Linked DNA regions of Homo sapiens: region 1 is linked to region 2. The links are contacts of gene promoters, found by promoter capture Hi-C in blood cells and fetal thymus (Javierre and others, 2016). All regions are on one chromosome and are shown on one strand. The core of a region is centred on a gene start or on the middle of the fragment in contact, and the rest is flanking DNA. Distances in the headings are between cores, read along the strand shown. Region 1 has its middle 17 kb from the start of ANP32D. Region 2 holds the start of H1-7 (H1.7 linker histone).

What was found. Contacts are between HindIII fragments. The CHiCAGO score rates a contact against its expected background, and 5 or more counts as called.
Region 1: a contact is called between a fragment that was not itself captured here and the fragment with the promoter of H1-7 in region 2, in 1 of 17 cell types (megakaryocytes). The highest score is 7.6, in megakaryocytes.

What each region holds. Positions count from the first base shown.
Region 1 is chr12:48,454,050-48,457,793 of GRCh38, reverse strand. It overlaps a transcript of C12orf54 not described here. Among named protein-coding and RNA genes, the nearest start is that of ANP32D, 17 kb to the left of the region's middle. The HindIII fragment of the contact is 1,315 bases long and covers 1,686-3,000 here.
Region 2 is chr12:48,327,674-48,331,314 of GRCh38, reverse strand. It overlaps H1-7 (H1.7 linker histone), which reads right to left and starts at 2,335. Exons shown (of 1, transcript NM_181788.1): 1 at 1,036-2,335. The coding sequence starts at 2,023. The coding sequence ends at 1,256. RefSeq lists an enhancer at 1,078-1,577. The HindIII fragment of the contact is 4,449 bases long and covers 1-3,641 here.

The DNA of each region.
Region 1 (3,744 bases), core at 1,094-3,593, 130 kb before region 2:
GTGTCATTGTGGAGGTAGAGAATGCCACACAGAAAGAGGACCCAAAGCCAAGGAGGCAGCAGACTGGAGAGGCTCACAGCTTCTGGGCACCGAAGCCGAAGCTGACTTCCCCATCCCATTAGAGACAGGCTTGGAGGGGCCAAACACCATCAGAACAATTTTCCCTGGCAGAGAAGCCCGGGACTAGAGCAAATCCAACTTTGGGAGGCCGAGGCAGGCAGATCACAAGGTCAGGAGTTCGAGACCAGCCTGACCAACATGGTGAAAACCCGTCTCTACTAAAAATACAAAAATTAGCCGGGTGTGGTGGCAGACACCTGTAATCCCAGCTACTCAGGAGGTTGAGGCAGGAGCATCACTTGAACCCATAAGGCAGAGGTTGCAGTGAGCTGAGATCAAGACATCACACTCCAGCCTGGGCCACAGAGTGAAACTCCATCTCAAAAAACAAACAAACAAAAAAACTAAACAAAAATAAAAAACCACCACCACCACCACCACCACCACCAACAACAACAACAAAAAACTGCTTGTTGCATTCATTTGGCACCAAGCTTACGGCCCATTCTTCTGAGTTCGGGCCTGGGGCCCTACGGTCACCTCTCACTCTATACCACCCCCAGCTTGGTCTGATTCCATTTAATTTCATAGTCTATGGATTACCCACGATGTGCTGGGGACATATTACACAGAGACCACATATTAATAGGGGAGACAGACACAAGTAACTACACACTAAACTTAATGCATGATTTAGGAGCTACAAAGTATCTAGAAACCACCAAGAAAGGAAAGATTTTAACAGTAGGATCACATCTAAATATTCAGCATCCTATGAAAGATTCTTGGCAGACTGGTCCTCATAATGGTGATAATATGCTTTCCTTGATTTGAAGATGCACACTTTTCGTACTTTGGTGTTTCTGAGATTCAGCTGCTTCTTACAATTGATGTGTGCATTTAATGTGGTTTATTCTGCTTGCCAAAGAAGAAAAAAGCTGATAATTAACAGATAGTTCAGTTTTTTCAACTGATGAGAACCTAGACAGAGGGAAATATATTAATAATAACACAGCACTAATGGGCTAGACAATATGCTAAATGTTATGTGAACATCTCATTTCATCCTCACAACCAACCTAACATGGAGAACAATTGTCAAAGCCATTTTCCAGGCAAAGAAACAAAGAGAAATAGCTTTCCCAAGGTCACGGCAGGCGAGGAGCAGAGTTGGGATTCAAATTTAACCCTCTTTGGCTCCAGAGTCCATGATCTTAATCTCAAATGCTACCTGTTCACATCTCTCTTCCTTTACTAAACTGGTTCCTCTGCCGGGAAGACTTCTGCCACTCCTCGTTCTAAGACTTGCTTCTCTAGATAAGGCAGGGTCAAATGGTATCTTTCCTGTAACTATTTCCCTGACCACTTGATACAGCTTGAATTTTTCCTCCTCTGAACTCCCATAGCAATCTTGTCACACTGGTAGAGTATAACTTACTATACTGCATTACAGCTGTCAGTATAACTTTATTCCTCATTACAGTGTGAGTGTCTTAAAGGCAGAGACTCTCTCCTACTCGTCTTTATATACCCAGGGCCCAATACAGTGCCTGGAAAACAATTGTTGTTGGCTGAGCTGCTTAAAAAATGTGTTTTCCCTACTTCGTTGAGATATAGAGAAAGCTTTACAGACTTTTAAATGATAATTTATTGAGTACAAACTACTGACATAATATTAGCTAAGAGCTTTATATGCTCTTATACTTTTTGTGAGAAGAAATGAGATAATCAGTGTAAAACACTTAAAATAGCGTATGGCACATGGTAAGGATTCAATCACGTTATTTTTTAATTATTATCACTATTTAACCATTGTGAAAATTCACTGAGTAGTTACTATGATTGTTAGTGTTCTATAAATAAGGCAACTGAGTAATAGAAGGCGAAGAAACTTATTCACTGTCAAACAGACAATGAAGGACAGATTTTGATCATTTATGTGTATGTATCAAATCTTACCTCATGGATACATTTTTCATAATTTTACACAGTGCAGGGGGTATCTCTGCCTGTTCTCTAGACTTCCAGTGCCTGTTAGCTCTTCTGTACAATCATGTTGGAGCTGCTCACTGATCTTTAGGTGCTGCTCAACTCCAGGTTTTCTTGTTATTTAAATCTTTTCTTCAGCCTCTCTGCTCCAAAACCTGGAAGATCTGAAAGAAAAACTTGGCTGAATATGGTTGTGTCTCTGACAAAGACTGCTGTTCTGCTGACGTTTCTCTGAGATCTGTAACAACTCTGTCTGCATCCCAAGCCATGGGTTTGGTGAGCTGCTTAAAATTGGCAGTCAAAACTCTGATTTGACCATAAAGACATATGTATGCATATGTTCATCACAGCGCTTTTCACAATAGCAAAGACATGGAATCAACCTAGATGCCCATTAACAGTGGACTGGAAAAAGAAAATGTGGTATATATACACCATAGAATACTATGCTGCCATCAAAAAGAATAAAATCATGGCTTTTGGAGCAACATGGATGCAGCTGGTGGCCATTATCCTAAATGAACTAATACAGGAACAGAAAACCAAATCGTGCATGTTCTTATTTATAAGTGGGAGGTAAACATTGAGTACACAGGGACACAAAGAGGAGAACAATAGACACTGGGGCCTACTTGAGGTTGGAGGATGGGATTGAAAAACTGCCTGTCTGGTACTATGCTCACTACCTGGATGATGAAATCATTTGTACACCAAACTCCAGTGACACGCAATTTACCCACATAACAAACCTGCACAGGTACCCTCTGAACCTAAAAGTTGGAAGGAAAAACAAACCCAAAAGGAAGCCCCTATGATTTGAAGAAACTTGCAGTAGTCAAAACTTGTCATTCTAAAGTTGAGCCACAAGGAAGCAGTAGTGTCCTAGCTGTAAGGTCTGAAGATGCTGGCATATTTATTCTAATGCCTTCCCTAGACTTACAACCTTAAGCTTTGCATATTTCATTTACTAAGTTACTATAGTTACCCAACAGTATTTGTAAAATATGATACTTGGAATTTATGTTACAAAGAAATAATTTCAATCTTAAAAAGAGAGTCAAAGTATAATTTTGCATTTTTCTTTTAACACTTATTTTATGCTGCATAACTTTCCTCTGAGGCTGCATTAAATAAAGAAGGAAAGAGATAGAGAAGAAGGGGCAGGAGGACAGAAAGCAGGCCACAGGCTTTATTCTTAGCAATCAGACCTGCTCAGGCAAACCCCACATCTCCTAGGCCTTTCTAATCTGCCTGCAGTTTGTGATAGTCTTCATCTTTTTTCTATGTCAGGTAAAAATGACTATGCAGCCTGTCCAATCTGATTAATCGAATTAAAGAACAGTCTTGGCCGGGTGCGGTGGCTCAAGTCTGTAATCCCAGCACTTTGGGAGGCCGAGGTGGGCAGATCACGACGTCAGGAGATGGAGACTATCCTGGCCAACATGGTGAAACCCTGTCTCTAGTAAAAATACAAAAAAAATTAACTGGATGTGGTGGTGTATGCCTGTAGTCCCAGCTACTTAGGAGGCTGAGGCAGGAGAATCACTTGAACCCAGGAGGCAGAGGTTGCAGTGAGCTGAGATCGCACGACTTCTCGCCAGCCTGGCAACAGAGTGAGACTCCGTCTCAAAAAAAAAAAAAAAAAAAACAAACAAAAAAAGAGAGAGAGAGAGAGAACTGTCTTGATTTTCCTTC
Region 2 (3,641 bases), core at 1,086-3,585:
ACTCTTTCCTTCAATCAGCTAATTTGACGTTTTACTTCCCGAGGAATCATTTGTGTCCTGTCAGCCTATGGCATGAGAACTACTCCTGCACTTTTCTTAACCCCTGCATTCAGAACTAAAATCATACATTTGTTTCATACTTGTTACACAGTGCTCAATACATGTTGTTATTGTTAAGAAAAGCAAAAGACCTATTCATTATCTAGCCTTCTCCATCTCCTTGTATTTGTGCTATGCAATCTGTCAATCTTCATAATTTCCTCTTTAGGAGTTGGCACTTTCTCAGAAGATAATTTCCTTATTGCTGAATTTTGTCAAGAAAACCATTATGCCATGATGTTTAAGTCCCCTTTTCATTTTACTGACATTTAAATCACCTAGAAATCATCTTAGCTCAATCCCAACATTTTACTGAGAAGAAAACCAAGACCATGAATGGTTAAGAAATAACTCAGCAAAGGTCAGACTAGCAGAACTTTGACTAGAATCTTGGTCTTACTACATAGTGGTCCAGCAGTTTTCTGCTATAGCACATTACCACTCCATCGGGAATTAATTATACACATATTTAACTCTCAGTGATGAGTACCTATCCTATGCCAGGCCCTATGCTGGATGCTTTCATACACTTATTTAACTGAGGATTGACATAAGAATATCTTTTAAATTAAAATAGGTTATCAATTCAAGGCAAAAACTACAAACTCATTATAATCAATTTTGGGAGGACTTTGTCCTAAAAGGAATTTCAGGTAAGAACACTTTGAATCAGTGGGACCACTCAACTTAAAGACTGTCTACTCTTTTCCCAACATGCCTTCCTCCCCAGAACTCAATTTGGATTTGCTAGAGTATCTAACAATACTTCAACACTTGTTAAGCTGCTGGTTTTCCTCTGTTTTCTCTCCTTCTAAAAGACATTTCTCTGAGTTCTGCAGCAGGAACAGAATCTCAGCTAATTTACTGTCTTCACTGAACGTTACCACCACCCACCCCTTCCCTTCCAGGTGCGGCAAAGAGGAAACAGACACAAGGTGGTCTAGAGGTCCATTTCATTTCAATGAGTGTGACAGCCGCTCTTCTTGGGGCCTATGGGGGAAAGGCATTGGTCCGTGGTGGGAGTGAAGCTGCTCCCACAAGATGCATTCCCAACTGGATCAGGAAGACCTTCAGATTTAGGGGAGGTCTTTGTGGAAGTCTTTAGTGGAGTCTTCCCCTGCCCGCTAGATGTCCGGTCGGTTTTAGCCCGCGTTGGCTACTGGATGGTCCGCTGTGCGGGCTTCTTGGGCTCCTGCTTCTCTTCCCTGGGCTTGGAGCTTCGCCTCTTGTCCTTCCCTGACCTCGGCGTGGTGTCTTCCTTCACGGCCTGTCCTCGCCCCTCGTCTGCCGCTGTCGCTCCCGCTTCCTCCTTGGCTCTGGCACACGGCGGCTCCTTGGCTCTCGGCCTTGCCCTCCTGGTCCTCCTCGCCCTGGCATTGGCCTTGGCTTTCGCCCTCGCGTTCCGTCTCCACACTTCTCTGGCCTTCCTGGCCGCCTTGCGAAGGGGCTGGCGGCGCCTCCGGGAGCTCCGGGGCGCGGCTGGGGTCCTCCAGGGAGCGCGCGTGCCCTCCTCTTGCCTCGCGCGTCCCGGCTTTCTCCTGGGCTTGGGAACCTTCCAGACCCTGAAGTAGCCGGCGGCGTCGCTGCCGCTGACCCGGAGGAGCGTGGCCTTGGCCTGCCCCCTGGGCGCTTCGTGGCGGCCGCTCTTCCTGCGCACTTCGTAGCCGGCGTTTCGGAGCTCCTTCTTGAGAGCTGCCAGAGTCAGCCCTTTGTGAGTGGAGATGGCCTGGAGCACCAACTGGGACACTCTGAGCACGGAGCTTGAGCAGCCCCTCGATGGTCCCCCGACAGTTTTTTCCGCTGGCAGCTGAGTGGCTGAGTGTCCTCGGGATTCGCCACTGGGCCCAGGCGCCTCAGCCATGGCCCCACTCCCGCCTCTGCGGGGCCACCGGCTTTGGGCCTCACCAGTCAAGGCCTGTTCCATAGCTGAGGTAGACTGGGCCACGTCACAAAGGCAGGCCTGGCAGAGATTTTCAGGTCCTAATTATGGGGCTGGCATATCTCACCCGGGGAGGGGCCCTTTTCACTTATAATAACCAATCAAATGCCACTTCCTTCTAGGTCTAAACCAATCCAAGTCTTCAGCGCCTGTCCACCCCCAACAGTCACCTACCTATAGAGTCTCCAGGGTTTTGTTCCCAAATCAAACTTACTGATCTCGATCTCCACCGCTTTCTTTAGTCGGCTATTTTGTGTGTGTATGTGGTCCTGCAAACCATCTACCCACAGTTCCTTAAGGTGAGCGAAGCTGCTCCCAACTATCCAAAACAAGCAACACACTGCCTGTAGAAAGTACACGGGGTAGTCCATGAAACACAACCCAGATTAGAAACTCCCACCTTTAATTCCACCAGTCAGGTATCTGAAGTCATGTCTCCCTAATTCTACACAGTGGATTCTGTGCAAGAGCATGAAGTAAAAAAGGAACCAATTGTGTGATCCCTCTACCCTAAACACTGATTCCCACACCTGGGAAATTTAGATGACGCATTCAACTGTACTGAAACAATCTAGATTTCACATCGCCTGAGGATACTGGTCTAATCATTATTCTTTGAACATACTGTGTTTTTTTCCATCTCATCCCCTCTCTTGGATTTCTCATCCTCTTTGTCTGCCCAGATAAGTCCTGCTCATCTTTCAAGGTACTGCTACATTATCCTTCTTCACTGAAGACTCCCCAAACTCTTTCAAATGATTTCTTGCCTCTTAACTACCACAACCACCAAAATTACTTCTGCAATCTTATATGGCTTTTTCTTTATTTTAAATGAATTTGGCATTAGAGGGTATAATGTGACACAATATTTTTTAAAAAGAAAAAAACTCGTACTTGGAGCTGGAAGATATGGATGCATATCCTAGCTCTTTAGGAGCCATATGACATTAACAAATCCCTTAATATCAGTGGTGTGGCTGTCAGATGGATGTGCCGGCCATCTGACTTCTTATCTAACATCACATTCCCTTCCTACCAACATCACAGAATTATTGCAAAATTTCAGAAGAGGTAGATGAACAAGGGCTACCTAAATATAAGGAATAAATTTACTTTACTTTGAATGTTTCTGTCTTGTATTTCCAACTAAATAAAGATATCCTCAAGAGCTATAGTCTTTGAACTTCTATGTCCCATGCTGCACCTAACAATATGCTTCATTATACACAGCGGGCATTTAATTGAGCCTGCTTACATCATTCCTCTCTGGTGAGGAGAGTTTCTCTAGATTCAGAAAGAAACTTCCAGAAGATCAGGAGAAAGGAGCAGAGTGAATTTCAAAGGGTTGGAAATGAAGGGGGCCAAGTAAGGATTAGCTTATCAAGGACCTATTTTGGACACAGTTTAGTTGGGAATAATTTAAAGTATTATTCTAAGAATACTTCAAATTGCCAAGCATATCATACTTTTCCAGAGGGCAATCACATACATTCATCAGTCACAGGCTAGACAGTGACAGTTTCTTTTAAAAATCAAAGCTCCAGGAAGTAGCTTAGACCAGTGCTTTTTTTTTTTTTTTTTGAGACAGAGTCTTGCTCAGCCC